2 separate regions of the Homo sapiens genome follow, and region 2 is linked to region 1. The links are contacts of gene promoters, found by promoter capture Hi-C in human tissues and cell types (Jung and others, 2019). All regions are on one chromosome and are shown on one strand. Each heading gives the region's core, a stretch centred on a gene start or on the middle of the fragment in contact. The rest is flanking DNA. Distances are from core to core; before and after follow the strand shown.

Region 1 (7,906 bases), core at 3,013-5,512:
CCAATTTGCTGTGCCTTTTAATGATCTCATCTGAAAGCCAACCCAAAGCTCACCTGTGGAACATCAGCCTGAAGGGACTTTTTATGAAACCTCTAAGGAGACAGCAATGGTCTTCAGAGCCAGAAGTGACTCTGGCCATGTCTCTCAAAGTTCAGGTCAGCCAGCTGCAGGTGGTGTAATGGGTCCTGTGCATTTAATGGCCACCAACCTCCATAATGCCTGATCAAGCTGGGTCTAGATGCTTCTATAATGAAGACTTATTTTATCACTGGCCTCGGGGCCAATCAAGGCTTTTGCATCTAAGTTGTTTTTAATTTAATTTAAGTTTCAAGATGAGCAGAAAAAAAAAATATGTGTGTGTATCCAATCATATTTTTTATGTGTTTAGTCAAAATTTATTACCTTGGTCTCAATTTTCTTTTCCAATCACATCCCTACGTGGGAAACAGTTCAGGAGTAGGGAGGAGAAACAAGCAGATTTATGTCGAACATAGGGGTGGACAGCAGGGTTTGAATAGGGGAAGGGTCTTTGCCAGAGATGAATAAAGACTCGGTAAGATACACCAGGAACCTATCAGAGAGGCCAGCTTCCCTTGAAACCAGCTTTACTCATTTCTCCAAAGATAGAAAGACTCCAACTCAAGCATGCCAAGGCTTTTACAGAAAAGACCGACATATCAAGGACTTTTGAAGAAATAGCTTATTATAATAACAGTCTAGCAAAAAAAAAATCTTGCATTGCATTTTAACAAGGGGAGTTTAATTAGCTGCACAAACAGGGTTGGGCCATTCTCAGAGTTCTCTGAAAAATTCTGCCAACTCAGAAAACAGTGGATATCATCAAGCAATCTCTAGACAGTCAATTAGGAACCACTAGCTAACAACTTTTAGTCCTGAAGTTCACTTGAAAGACAGACAAGTAATTATGAGCCCTGCTGTCAGCCATTCCATCGGTTTCTATTGAACATCTCTGTCCCAAAGCTGTGGACTCCCCCAGCTTCCATCCTGCTTATCATCAGCCCAGCATGCTCAGCTGACATCAAAATGGTCCATAAGTTTGATCAGTGTCTCCCATTAGAGATATTTCTGCTCCTCGCATTCAAAGACAATGAAGCTAATGGTGATGAGTCTCTCTCTGCGGTGAATGCCCAAACTCTACATGAATGAAGCATGGGGGATGGGAGACAAAGACAAGAGCTTGTCCCCTTGGCCTTTGGAAGAATATGCGATTCCCCTTCTGTAGGGCAAATAGGACCCTGAGTACCTCACAAGACACCTTATATTGGTAGGTTTTCCCTAAGCACGTGTTCAATTAACATTTACTGATGTCTACACTATGCCAGGTTCTGGCTTTAGGGAGATGATTAAGACTCAATTTCTGCCCAGGAATCAGGCCCACTGTCACTCTGAAAGCCCTACTTGTTTTTTCAAACCAGCCTTGTAGCCTGATGACAAGAAAACACGTGACTCGTTGCAGTTCCAACTATACCAGTTACTCTGTGGAGTGAGCATTGAGGCTTTTCCTAGTCTTGTGAATTGAGGACCCTGCAGAGGCCCCTCCTCAGGAGGGAGACGTCTGAGGCAGAGAGTACTCTGAGTGCTTACAGCAGAAGGTGCAACTCACATTTAAGGTGATTTAATGTTGCAACTGGCTCTAATTAGTAGCCAAGGCTAAGTGTCAGCAAAGATTCAAGGTATAAAATAATGGTACTCAACATTTTCAAAGTACAGAAAATGATATGTTTGGAACTTACTCAATGACAGTTATAAAAGGGTTTTCTACCACCTTCCAAAGAGCTCATCAAGCTGACAGCCAGCCCCAGAAAATTAGGTTGATAGTGAAATTGACTCCTAGTCCAGTATAAAAAAAAAGTTGGAGTTGTGATACTGACTCACCAGGGAGAGATAAGTAAAAAGGAAAATTAAAACCTCTAAGTCCAATTTAACTACCATGTCTCATCTACTTTTAAATATCTGTCTTTTTACCAGACAATAGGCATTCTGGATTTCTCTGTTTCTTGATCTGTATTTTATTTTCTATTATTATAGTTGATAATCTTACCCAAATGCTGGTTTCTGACTGGTGATGGAGCTTCATAATAAATTATTATTGTTAACCTCAGTCCAAAAAAGAGTGCTAGACAATTCTGATCATCCCCAGAAATCATTGAGTATCACAGAATAAACTTATGTAACTGATTTCTGACTGCAAAGAATCCTTGTGCCTACTTATGATTCCCAAGCCTCCCTCCTCTAACTAAAAAATAAGCAATTTTCATCTATACTCCTTGGAAATATAGAAACCTATATGTACAGACATGGTGAAGAGAATGGACAGACTAATTTTGAGCTATATAACTTGCTAGCTTAGTGACTTAAAACTAATGACTTCACCTTGATAAGCCTTAGTTTTCACATCTCTAAAATGGGACCATTAATTGTACCTACCTCTTAGGGTTAAATAAGATAATACAGGCCAGGTGCGGTGGCTCATGCCTGTAATCCCAGCACTTTGGGAGGCTGAGGCAGGCAGATCATGAGGTCAGGAGTTCGAGACCAGCCTGACCAACATGGTGAAACTCCATCTCTACTAAAAATACAAAAATTAGCCAGGCGTGGTGGCGGGTGCCTGTAATCCCAGCTACTCAGGAGGCTGAGGTGGGACAATCGCTTGAACCTGGTAGGCGGAGGTTGCAGTGAGCCGAGATCGTGCCACTGCACTCCAGCCTGGGTGACAGAATGAGACTCTGTCTCAAAAAACAAACAAACAACAACAACAACAAAAAGATATATATTATGTACTTAACCTAGTCCTGGCATTTATTAGACACACAGTAAATGTTATTGCTGCTGTTTCTATCTAGGCCCTATCCAAATCATTTGTTAATTATCACATTTTTATTATCTGTAATTTCTGATGGTCAAAATAAAACAAATAAAAGTCTTTTCCTCCCCCTTCTCCCATTTGCCCTTCCATTCAAGCATGATAATGTAAGCAGCTACCTGACCTGTGAGGAAAGATCCTAGAGGCTTAGAGAGAGAAGCTTTGGCCCAGATAAGACTCCCCCACCCCAAGTTATACCTTAGCAAAAATAGCCTAGGAGGTTTGCAGAGTGGGGTTCCCGCAGAAAGGCCCAGAGTGAAATGAATAACTGCTTCTTACCTCCTAACCTCTCATGCCCTCCAGCCCATTCTCCTTTCTTTAAAGGAGATCCAAAGAGGACTCATCCCCCACGGAACTGGCTTACTATGCCTTCAATGCACTTAGCCTAGCTGTACCAGCCTCGTTGTAATGCATGACTTTTGGTTTTGTTTGTTTGTTGCTACTGTTGTTTGGAGCTGGAAATGGTCCTGAAGATTCCCTGTAAAGAAGACTGCAAAGAGTGAACACTCCCCTAGGCGAATGTCCACTGGTAATAACACTTTGCTAAAGACCAGTAACTCCCCCCTTATTTCTGACACCCACCTCCTTTATAAACCAGGCCAAGAGAAATGGTCAGGGCTTCAACTAGGGCACTGCGGCTCTCACTCCCTCGAGGGCTACTGTTCACCATTCCGGGATCCTGCCAGGCAGCAAAACAACTGGACAAACTTCCCAGAGCTGCAACTCACAGAGTCTTTCCCTAACAGTTCCCATCTTGGACTATATATTAGAATCACCTGGGGAGAGGTTTTTTAAAATATTTGATTTGTATACATCTATGTAGGATTTTTTTAAGTACAGAACCCAGGCATCTGTACTTTTAGAGTCCCCCCGGCCACCCATTCTAATGTGCAGCCAGATTTGAGAATTCCTCTAAAGCATAGATATTCCCAAAAGTCCCAGCTGGAGAACTGCGATATCGTCTCTCTTGCTAACAATTTAATTATTTTACTGAGGCTTTAATTCATTTCCGGGGCACCTATAGTTAACAAAATGAGTCGTAAATCTTTTAGAGTGCCCAGGTCTAGCCATCCATGAAATTGTATTCAGGTACCCAAAAGCAAATGGAAGGGAATGAATGCAGCTCATTCAGATTCTGGGGCCTCCTCACCTGGGACACAGAACCTCCGCTGCCTAAGCTGCGGCTGGAGCTGGAGCCCGACCTGGAGCTGGAGCTGAAGCTGGAGCTGGAGTCAACACCTGGGAAAGAGCTGAAGCCGGGGCTGGGAATTGGAGGTCCCACATCCCCCAAATCCCCTGCAGCTTGGCCAAGGAAGAACAGAAGGGCTAGGAGAAATGAGAGGCCGGGCCTCATCTTGTCCTCTTAGCTGGAGCCGCTGGCTCTGCAGAGAGCCCAGGGGCTTCTTATAGTGCCCAGTGGTGATTTCCCCATGGCCAGCATGTAGGAAAAGAGGGAGTGGCCAGGGAACGTGTGAACTGCCCCAGGAGGTTCAGGACACCCAGGAATCTGAGTCATGGCCCACACCTTGTCAGTGAGGCCCACTCTGTGAGCTGCCCTTGGATCCAGATATCCCCTGCCAAACATTAACTCAAATGTGCTTTGTAAAGCCCAATATTTGGTTTCCCACTTGGTACTTCCTTGAAAGAGATGAGACCAAAGTAGTCTTTGTGGATGACACAGAGTTTGGAGGCTCCATGGAGGAAAAGCAACCCTCAGTCCTTTGCCTCACAGCACTTCTAGTGCTCTCCCCCATTTTACTGAATACTACTTTTCACAGACAGTTAGGGAACTTGCCTTAGGGACTGTGGCTCTCCTCCAGGAGCGACTGAGCTTCCCTCTTCAGTTCCTATTGCCCAAGTTGTCGTTGACCTGTTCCTTACAGTGACTGTTTCTAGACAAAGTTGTCTAACAACCCCACTCTGAAGGAAAGACCAGCAACGTTTTGTTCCCTGGCCAACCAGGTAGGACTCTGCCCTATCAAGTACTCACCACTGTATGCTTCATATAGGGAAGAGAAAACACCCAAATAAACAAAGGGATCCCGATGACCCAGTGCCCGCTCTCCCAGGCCAGGGCACTGCCTCAAACCCAGTCAAGGAGGACCCCAGGAGCAGTTTCTCTCTCCAGAAAACTTTGACCTCTATTGCCCCTGAGCTTCTTGTGAGCCAGCCAGGCATTCAAGATCTCAAGCTTATTCTTCATAAAACTGAGAAATAAGATGCATTTTCTCTTGCTCAGCAGCTCTGACCCTGGGCTCCAGGATCCATTTGCCCTGCTCAACATTTCACACACCTTTGTGACCTCTGCCTTCTTCCCTGGAGAAAGAAAAAGGTGTTAGTCTCGGTATTAAGACCCAGCTCTGGGCCGGGGATGCTGGCTCGCACCTGTAATCCCAGCACTTTGGGAGGCCAAGGTGGGAGGATGGCTTGAGCTCAAGAGTTGGAGACCATCCTGGGCAATGTGGTGAGACCCTGTCTCTACAAAAAATGAAAAAAATAGCCAAGTGTGGCGGTATGCACCTGTGGTCCCAGCTACTTGGGAAGCTGAGGTGGGAGGATCACCTGAGCCTGGGAGGTTGCGGCTGTAGTGAGCCATGTTCACACCACTGCACTGCAGCATGGGTGACAGAGTAAGGCTGTCTCAAAAGAACAAAAACAAACAAAAAAGCTGTGTCACAATGAGTCGGTGGCCTTGAGCATGTCACTTAGCCCCTCTAGGGTTGTAACAATTCCTAAATTGTTTGAATTAAATGAAATATTGTATGGGAAGTTGCTTATGACTTTTGACGTGCCATAAAAATGTCAGCTTTTTCATTGTTTGTTTAATTTCCTAAAGACTAGATCAATATGTAAGATTGCTGGGTTCAAAACAAGGAGAGAAGGTTCATGCCCCACTCCACCCCACCCCAGAAGCTCCACACAAACTCTCAGAATAAGCACAGTGCTAATGTGAGAAACAGGGTCTTAAACCCCTGGTACACTATTCAGAAACTGGGGTGGTGGGGAGGGGGAAGGGGAGACAGGAAAACCACAAATGGATGGATAGAGAGTGAAGAAGAACAGATAGGGAGAAATGTGGGCTGTAAAGTTCATTGTTCTCTGTGGGAAGCAGTTCAGCCTTGGCCTCTTTGGTCAAATGTTCTAACCACTTAGATCCCCAGTCCAAGGCAGGGAATGCATACAGAATGTGTGAGAATGAAAACTGGGAGACTGAATCCATTATTCTAAGATTGAATGCAATGAATATGGACATAAGGAGAAGAATGTGTCTCTACCTCCCAGCACAATTCCCCTCTTCCTCCCGATTCCCACCAAAACAAATGGCAAATCTGTTCTCATTTGCTAGTAGCCTCTGCATGTGGCTGTAATGAGCCTTCCTTGTACCTTTTTTCAAGGAGCATGTTGGTGCCCTGTCAGAAAGAAAATCTCATTAACAGTGGTATAGCCTGTAGTCATGACTACCTTTAAGGTCTCCTATGGCCAATTCATTAGAAGACCCCTTACCAGAGGGGTGGCAATACTGCAGAAATGGGACAGCAGTTCTCCCAAGCACAAATGTGCCTTAGCCAGGGAAGAACCACCACCCACTGTGCTCATAAGCTTCTTTGTTCTTGTATGGCTCCAGAGTTTCCAGAATAAAACTTTAATCTATTTGGTAGCCCTCAAATGCACAAAAGCATTGGTGATGCCTCCGTAATGAGATTATTAATAATAATGAGATTATTAATAAAAATAGTTTGATCAGTTTCCCTGCAAATACCTTTGTCCTAAGAAACAAGCAGCCTCCTGGTTGTATGACAGACTCAAAGACAGGAACAAAATTATCAGAGCTGCAAAGCAAAGTGTATTATTTGTAAAAATGTGTTCTACCCTGGGCTCCTTCTAGAGTAAGGGGTCACCGAAATTCACATGAGTAATACAGCAATCTTCACTGACAGTTTGAAAGAAAGTTACTATTTATGCACTTCATTAGGGGACCTCCCCAAACCGTACTTCTTGAACAGTTGCAACACACAAGGAAGACATCCGTGTAGACATAACTTTAATTTAATCCTCCTGTCATTAAAAATCAAACATACTGCTGCATTTTTGCAGGAGGGTATCTATGGGGTATCTGGTGTATATGAGGAAAACAGAGGCTGTGTTTGGTCTACAGATTGGTAATAGAGGCTTTTCATATCAGTTGACTACATCGTCAACAACCCTCAAATTTCTATTAGCAATATCAACAATCGTGTATATAAGTAATAATCAGCTGACCCCATTTATTTACCCTGGAAAGTGGTCCCTCAGTTAACAGTGTGTGTTAGAGCCTACTCTGTGCAGAACATCAGGCCCTATGATGATAAGGAAAGAAGAATGCATAATTTTTTCTAATGAAAATGCCTAGTCACTTACGGAAGGCAGGCCACTTCAGGGAATATACTAGGAATAAACACAAATTGAACACAAAACCAGTTAAATGAATACTGAGAAATGACTGGATAGACTCCAGAGACCCAAGATGGGTTGAAGTGTGAAGAATTTGCCAGGTGCTGAGCTTCTTAGGGATGGAGACCATGGCTTCATTGGTTTTCAATCTCCAGCACCTAGCCCAGTGCTTGGCATTTGGTGTCTAATAAACGTTTGTACACTGAGGAATATATTTAATAAATGAATGCATGCATGCATGAATGAGTGGATTGATTTAATAAGAATTGTGAAGGAAATTCTTAAATAACTATTGGAGAAAATACTTATTTTTTTAAAAATTAGTGTTGAAGAAAAGGGAGTGATTTCCAAGCAAGAGAAATTGTACAAGTTAAAGAACATAGGCAACTCAAATTCTCTCCAGGGTCATGATTATGCCCTTGTACCTACAATCTCATGTAGCCCACTCTAGCAACTCATACTTGGATTCGAGTTCTTAAGGTTATTCCTCAGCCTGACCTGAACACCAAATCAACATTCTCACTCCCTAAGCCTATCCTATATCAAGAACTACCTAAATTTTGCCATGTTATTGTGGTTTAGAAGATCAAA
Region 2 (7,906 bases), core at 3,813-6,312, 140 kb before region 1:
TCTTTTTCTTTCTTTTTTTTTTTTCTTTGAGACGGAGTCTTGCTCTTTCACCCAGGCTGGAGTGCAGGGGCATGATCTTGGCTCACTGCAACCTCTGCCTCCCTGGTTCAAGCAATTCTCCCGCTTCAGCCCCTTGAGTAGCTAGGATTACAGGTGCACGCCACCACGCCCAGCTAATTTTCTGTATTTTTAGTAGAGATGGGGTTTCACCATGTTGGCCAGGCTAATCTCAAACTCCTGACCTCAAGTGATCCACCCACCTCGGCCTCCCAAAGTACAGGGATTACAGGAATGAGCCACCAAGCCCGGCCCACTAACTTCTTTTTCTAGCTTCTCAACAAGTAAGATTGAGTAAGTCTGAGAATGGGACCGTGTCTAGAATTTATTCCTTCCAGTGGGTTCTTGGTCTCACTGACTTCAAGAATGAAGCCACGGACCTCGCAGTGAGTGTTACAGCTCTTAAAGGTGGCACATCCAGAGTTGTTTGTTCCTCTCAGTCGGTTCGTGGTCTCACTGACTTCAGGAATTAAGCCGCAGAGCCTCCTGTGAGTGTTACAGCTCATAGAGGTAGTGCGGACCCAGTGAGCAGCAGCAAGATTTATTATGAAGAGTGAAAGAACAAAGCTTCCACAGCGTGGAAGGGGACCACAGCTGGTTGCCACTGTTGGCTGGGGGTGGCCAGCTTTTATTCTCTTATTTGTCCCCACCCACATCCTGCTGATTGGTCCATTTTACAGAGCACTGATTGGTGCTTTTACAATCCTTTAGCTAGACACAGAGTGCTGATTGGTGCATTTTTACAGAGTGCTGATTGGTGCATTTACAACCCTTTAGCTAGACACAGAGTGCTGATTGGTACGTTTACAATCCTCTAGCTAGACAGAAAAGTTCTCCGAGTCCCCACTCAACCCAGGAAGTCCAGCTGGCTTCACCTCTCAATCTTCATTCTTGAAGTCAGCAAGACCAAGAACCCACCAGAAGGAATAAATTCTGGACACAGGACTATGGGGAAAGACCTCAACCCAAAACATACACAAACACATGTGTGCGCGCACACACACACACACACACACACACGCACAGCATCTCCAACACCATTCCCAGACTATGCACCTCACTTCCCTACCCCAGTAGAATATGCCATTCAGCCTGACTATTGAAACCATCTTGTACTGACCATCAGATCTCTTAGGCAGTGGACTTTCAAGATACCTCTAAACTTGTCACCATGTCCAGTTAGCCCATGAGAAAACTTGCACCTCTGCCTCTTCAAAATCTGGATGTACACGACGCTCCCACTGTGGCCTTCTATCATTGGTCTGCCTTTGGGGCTTCTCCACAAGCCTCTTGCTTTTAAGATTTTCCAAGCTACAGCCAGGGCTTGATCTCTAGGTCCAGACTCTAGAGGATGTAGTTTGACTTCTCCCTAGCCTCTCTGCCCTTGGCTCTGCTCCCATGGTGTTGCAAGAACAGATGGGATTCTATAGCTCAGCTAACAGTCAGCCAGGGTGAGATGTCAGGCTTCCTTTCTGACAAACACTGTACTTTCTCTCAAGTCCTTCTTACATGGCATAGAGTAGGAGGAAGCACTCCCTTGATCTTAACCCAGGAGGAGGGGAGGGGATACAAAATTCTGATTCATTTGACTGTGAAGAATGAAAAAACCTCACTACAATGGCTTGAAAAGAGGTTTGGTAGGTGAAGGACAGAGAGACATATTCTAACTCCTTTTGAATTAGTCCCTATTTTAAAAGTATTTCTATCTTAAACAATAATGGGCAAAGTATTACTATTCTTGTCCTTTATGCTTCCACCAGAACTCAGGAATTTTATACTTCTATCTAACACAAATTGCCATAAGATGCCATTAATTATTAATTACTTGATTCTGAAACATTATTTTTTTAAAAGCTAAATGTTTAACTTAATAGAATTTTTTCTCCAGAGAGGAAGATTTTCAAGTTTAGAAAGGACATGTAGAATATAGGCTATTACCACACAGTTGGCATTCCCCTCCTACTGAGTGACATAGAATCAGCATTAAGGTCTGACTTTTAAGATAATTTCATGTTAGCAGACCACACTGGACAAAGCTTTCTTCCTTCTGCTCTTTCATGGGCCATGAAATCAGAATATTTTAAGTCACTATCACTACATCTGAACTTCAGGAAGCCATGTACAATGTACGTCCTCTTAATTAATTCATTTCTAAGCATTTACTGAGTGTTTGACTCTGGGCTCAGTGCTGACTTACAAAGCCAAATAAGAGATGGGTCACTTCTCTCAAGGAGCTTACAGACTAATAAGGGAAACAGAAAAATAGATTATTAATATATGGCTGAACAATGATGGAGATACGTACAGAGTGCTATGGGAACCCAAAAGAGAGCAACCACCCTGTCTTGGGTGGTCAAAAGGTGCTTCCTTATGCAAGTGATATTTGAGTTGTCTTAAAAGACACTCAAGAATCAGCAAAATGATCCTCAGTTTCCTATCTTGGGTAATTGAGTAGATGTTGGTGGCATCAATGAAGACAGAAAATGTGTGAGCAAGATTTAGAAGGAAAGATCATGAATTTAATCTTGAAATTCATGGGCTTGTGCTATTGGCCCAAAAAAGCAAAGATGGCTGGTAAACATTTGGATATATAAGAATAAAACTCAGGAGGTTTAGGCTAGAAATACAGGTTTAAAGTCATCAACATTTAGTAAGTATTGAAATAATGAGAGTGAATAAAATTACGAAGCGAGAAAATATGGTAGTTTTACATCGTATGGTTCATAAGTGTTTTTGAGAATCTGATGAAGAGAATGTGCTCTCCAGAGAAGAGATCCGGACATGGTGGCTCACGCCTGTAATTCCAGCACTTTGGGAGGCCAAGGTAGTAGAATCACTTGAGTCAGGAGTTTGAGACCAGCCTTGCCAACATGGTGAAACCCAATCACTACTAAAAATACAAAAATTAGCCGGGTGTGGTGGCAGGCGCCTGTAATCCCAGCTACTCAAGAGGCTGAGGCACGAGAATCGCTTGAACCTGGGAGGCAGAGGTTGCAGTGAGCAGAGATTCTGCCACTGCACTCCAGCCTGGGCAACAGAGGGAGACTCAGTCTCAAAAATAATAATAATAAAATAATAACAGCTGACCGGGCGCGGTGGCTCACACCTGTAATCCCAGCACTTTGGGAGGCCAAGGCAGGCAGACCACTCGAGGTCAGGAGTTCAAGACCAGCCTGGCCAACATGGTGAAACCCTGTCTCTACTAAAAATACAAAAAAAAAAAAAAAAAAATTAACAGGGCATGGTGGCAGGTCCCTGTAATCCCAGCTACTCAAGATGCTGAGGCAGGAGAATCACTTGAACCCAGGAGATGGAGGTTGCAGTGAGCCGAGATCGGGTCACTGTACTCCAGTCTGGGCAACAGAGCAAAACTCTATGTCAAAAGAAAAAAAAAGTACACAGAGAGATTTTTTTGCATATACTTACAATGAGTACATAGGTTCCCTAAAGCTCATCCATGTATTCCAGGTTAAGAAAATACAATATTTAAAAAGAAGGGAAATTAATGGATGAGCAAAACTTCTGAGCCACAATTGAAAGTATTGATGTCTGAGACAATATACAAGATAAAGTCATCCAAACAAAGGAGACTTGAAAAGGTTGGTTTTTCTAAACTACTTTGCTTTCTCATAACTATTTAACTACATACTACCTGCCTTTGGAACCAGCACAGTCTATAAAATGCTTCACCACAAATATCCAAAACCAGAGGCAATTTTGAAATATACATGTGAAATGAAGCTGGATCTATTCATATTACAGCCCCAGAGAATATATATCAAGCTAGAAGTAATGAGTTCCAGTTTGTAAGGATTTTTACAGCTCAAAAGAAATTGGCTTTTCCAAAGCTTTCCTTTTCTCTAGGTTGCCAGAGCACTGTGCTTATGCTTCTACTATAAAAGTATTTTCATTCCTTCTTGTTTATAAGTCAGCATTTCCCCTTCAAAATATTAGGATTCTTGTAGACAAGGACAGATTCTTGTTTATCTTTGCCCATAATGCTATTGCCTCCACTTCCCCAGCCCCTACACACCTAATACAGAGTCTTACACATACATTTGATAAATATTTGTAGAACTAACTTGAATTGCCTACCCAATCACAGAATTTTGTACATTAGCAAATAAGAAATCAAAAGCGTGGAAGACAATGGAAGCCAGTGACTCCAGATGCCTCTTTTCAGATAGGGTCTGATGTATCTCATTTCTGCAGCAATTGACAAGAAGAAGTATCACAGTAAATAGTATTAATCAGTCCAGAGTTTGCACACCACACTTCCTGTGCTTATATTACACTATGGAATTAAAGAAAACAGAGGAAAAAACATGAAAGTTCTCAAGAACCAAAAGGATAGAAAGAACTCTATTCTCACACCATATAGAAAAATTACCTCCTAGACAAAAAGGAGATTATCATTTATGCAACACAAAGGACAAAACAGGTGTTAGTACAAGAATAGATCATTTCAGGGGTCATAAGCTGAACCCTTGCTCTACATAAATCAACACAAATCAAGAACACACATGCAGGAATTAAACCACAATTTGGCCTTGTTTGCTATGTAACATTGTAACTAAAACTGGTACTATATGACATCTGCAAGCGTTTCATATGAGCCTGAAGGGAAGCTGCTTTCTGACCTTTGCAGATTTACAGTCCCACCTAGTATGAAACAGAACAGAATATGGTTGCTGTTTTCAGAAAAATATTTGCTCTAGCCACTTGTTGATGCCTTCATTACCGAACTCCAATAAATCTTCACTTGCTGTTTACTAACGAAGCACATTTTACTCCACAAAAGGCTAAATGTGTTGCAAATCAGACAAGGCACTTTTGGGGGGTTTGTGTTCTTTTGTTTTTTTGTTTTGGTCTGGTTTTATGGCTTGTCCATTTTAAGAAATCTAAAGGGCACTTAAACCCCAATGACTCACAATTCAAAGCATGAAATAAAAAGCAAATGGAGACCAATTTCAAACTAGCCTTGACTGAAAGTGAGCCTCTTGAAGTTACACAACCCAGGATAAGCTCTGGCCAGAACTGCGGGCTGCCCAAATTATTTGTCTTTCCTATGGGAGTAGAGGGTTTGTCCTTTTTCTGGGCTGTTACATAGAGGCTGGAGTAGCTTTGGGGAATATAAAGCATCATTTTGGCCACCAATCTTCCCCCTCACCCTACTGCCAAAAAAGTTCTAAACCAAGAAATCAGTTTGTCCTAGACAAAGAAGGCAGCATAATAAACTCAAGGAAGGAGAGAGTTGCTCTTTGTTAGGCTAGGTGTCTTATATTTTTATAGTGAGTCAAGTGCTTGATTCAGAAGATTTTGGAAGAGAATCAGGCAAAGGAGAGGAGAGAAAATGGCAAGACTAGAATAGTGACTGAAAAAGGAGGAAAAATAATAAATAGGTCTTGAATTGTGACTACTTAGCTCTGAAAATGGAAATTCGACAGTTGGGTTTCTTTTTATACATCCAGGACTTAACCTGGAATGTTTTCTCACTACCCCCCTACAATATCTGTCACATGACAAACTCATATCCATCATTCAGGCCTCAGCTCATGTATCATTTCTTCTGTAAAGCTTCCATAATGCCAAGAAAAGAACTCCCTTGTGTTGTCATCTCACTTAATTAGGCTCTTTCTTAGAGAATGCCTCCCCCACCACTCCGAGAGCACCTTGAGGGTCCTAGATTATACTCATCATTTTCTCCCCAGAACCTGTCATTATAGATGACCCAAAATTTTCTTAATAAATGCCTGTTGAATAAGTCTAAGTAGCTAAGAAGAAAAAAAAATTAAGTCTCCAGATACTTAAATTAAAAAGACATCTAATGGAGTTGCACTCACTGTATGTCATGAAGACCCAGTCTCAAATTAGGGAAGCACACCAGAACACAGCCATTATGAAATCAGCCTTTGATATCACAGCCCCTAAAAGGAGCGGGGACAATTCAGAGCATAATTTTGTAAGAAAAATGAAAAATAATAATCTATCCTTTTGGTTCATTTTCCAAAAGGATTTTAGCAATAAACACATTTTTTTCTTGAGAAAAAAATGAAAATATTTATTCTAAAATATCCCCATGTAATGTATAATGATATTCTGGGCAGAAATGTTCTACACCCACGTCAGTGTTACAAATCACATGGGTAAAGAACTGAGGAATCTTCTCCCACTCAGAAACTGCTCAGTCCTGTTTATGAGCAGCCATTTAATGCTATTCTTAAAAAGACCAATTTAAAATGAATGCAGCATGGACTGCTGCACAGATTACCATGGACACTGTCCAAATGTTGCCTCATAGTATGATAGAACCTAAAGCTTATTGAAAAGGGTCTATTTCTTTTCAATAAACCCCTTTTCAAAACTACATTTAGGAATGTGCTGGGTTACTAAAATTACTCAACTGCTCTATAATTTGAATAACTTTCTCCAGAAGAGTCTCTCAATTCTCTGTAGGGCATCAAGAGGCCTATGATGATCTATATTACAAGCATTCTGAAGACAGACATTCACACACACAGACACACCCACATACACTCACATATATGCATGTCCACACCCATTATGCACAAACTCACACATGTTCACATACATGTTTGCCCATACATATTCTCTCTCTCTCTTCTCTCTCTCTCTCTCTCTCTCTCTCACACACACACACACACCCACACACACACACACATGCACAATTAACAAGCTGGGAGGGAGCTCAGTGAAGAGAGATCCTTTTCGGAATAGCTATTACCTGGTACTCACATGATGAAATGGGGGTACCTAGTAAGCTTCAGCTCAGTCACCAGTTGGATGCTGTGATCACTATCTAGTAGCAATCCAAGTCCTATAAATCGAAGTCTCGTTTGATACTAGCACATACTACCACACACATCCAAATGTCTGCTAAATACTAAGGATAACCGGCAGGCATTATCAAAAACAACCTTGATATTTTTAAATCTCAAAAAAGTATGCTATCCTCACAACATTGGGACTGCTAAAAGCAGCACTTCGTAGGCCTGGAAGTTTCTCGGTATGGCTTCTCTAACTCCAGGGAGTAAATAAAAACTGTTTTTCCCATGGATTTCACCTCAGCTACAATTGAAACTCCACTGCATCCCCATGGCAAATGAATGAATGACTGGATGAATATGGCAAAACTCTCCAGTTCACATGAACTTTATCCAGGATGAGTCAATATGTGGATGTTTTCCATGACATGTGGTCCGCTCCTTTAGAGAAACCAAGGGGAAATTAGAAGCATGCCCAAGGAAATTTGGCCTTTCCCAGGTGTGTCCATGCTGAAAGATGCATTTATCTGCATCCTTCTCCTCCAGGTGCTTGACTTCATTGTGGAAGCTTCGTTCATTTAGAGGACACTGAAATCATGCATATTACTTTCCATACAAATTATCTTTGTTTCTTCCAACAGTGACATGGGAGAGAAATGACTCAACTTGTACCTATGAACAAAGAGAGCTGAGCAATTGTCCAATGACACTAATCAGAGCAACAGAAAATATGTATTGTTCATAGCCTAACTTTTTCCTTAGTTGAAATGTTTTGACCAGAAAATCAGATAATTATTTCAGATTTACACCTCATTTGTCTTATGTAAGCATCATTTCACTTATACTAAAGATAAGAGAGTTAACTCAAAGTTTTTGTCTAATCATTTGTACTAAATGAATGAAGTCCTAGACTAGATTTCCAACAAAGTTTGAATGAATAGATGCAAACCTCTCCATAAGTTCACATGACACTCTTTAGCCAAGTTGAGACTGAGAGAGACTGAATGAATAGAGAAATACTTATAGTATTCAAACTAAGAATAAGATCAGATTTGGAAAAGTGA

What was found. Contacts are between HindIII fragments. The study calls those that stand out against the background at their distance.
Region 2: a fragment that was not itself captured here is called in contact with the fragment with the promoter of OLFM4 in region 1 in 4 of the 25 tissues and cell types used here (H1 embryonic stem cells, dorsolateral prefrontal cortex, heart left ventricle and 1 more).

The regions. Positions count from the first base shown.
Region 1 is chr13:53,025,169-53,033,074 of GRCh38, reverse strand. OLFM4 (olfactomedin 4) reads right to left here and starts at 4,262. Exons shown (of 5, transcript NM_006418.5): 1 at 4,035-4,262. The coding sequence starts at 4,238. The HindIII fragment of the contact is 5,150 bases long and covers 631-5,780 here.
Region 2 is chr13:53,168,305-53,176,210 of GRCh38, reverse strand. No RefSeq gene overlaps it. Among named protein-coding and RNA genes, the nearest start is that of LINC01065, 20 kb to the right of the region's middle. The HindIII fragment of the contact is 4,126 bases long and covers 3,000-7,125 here.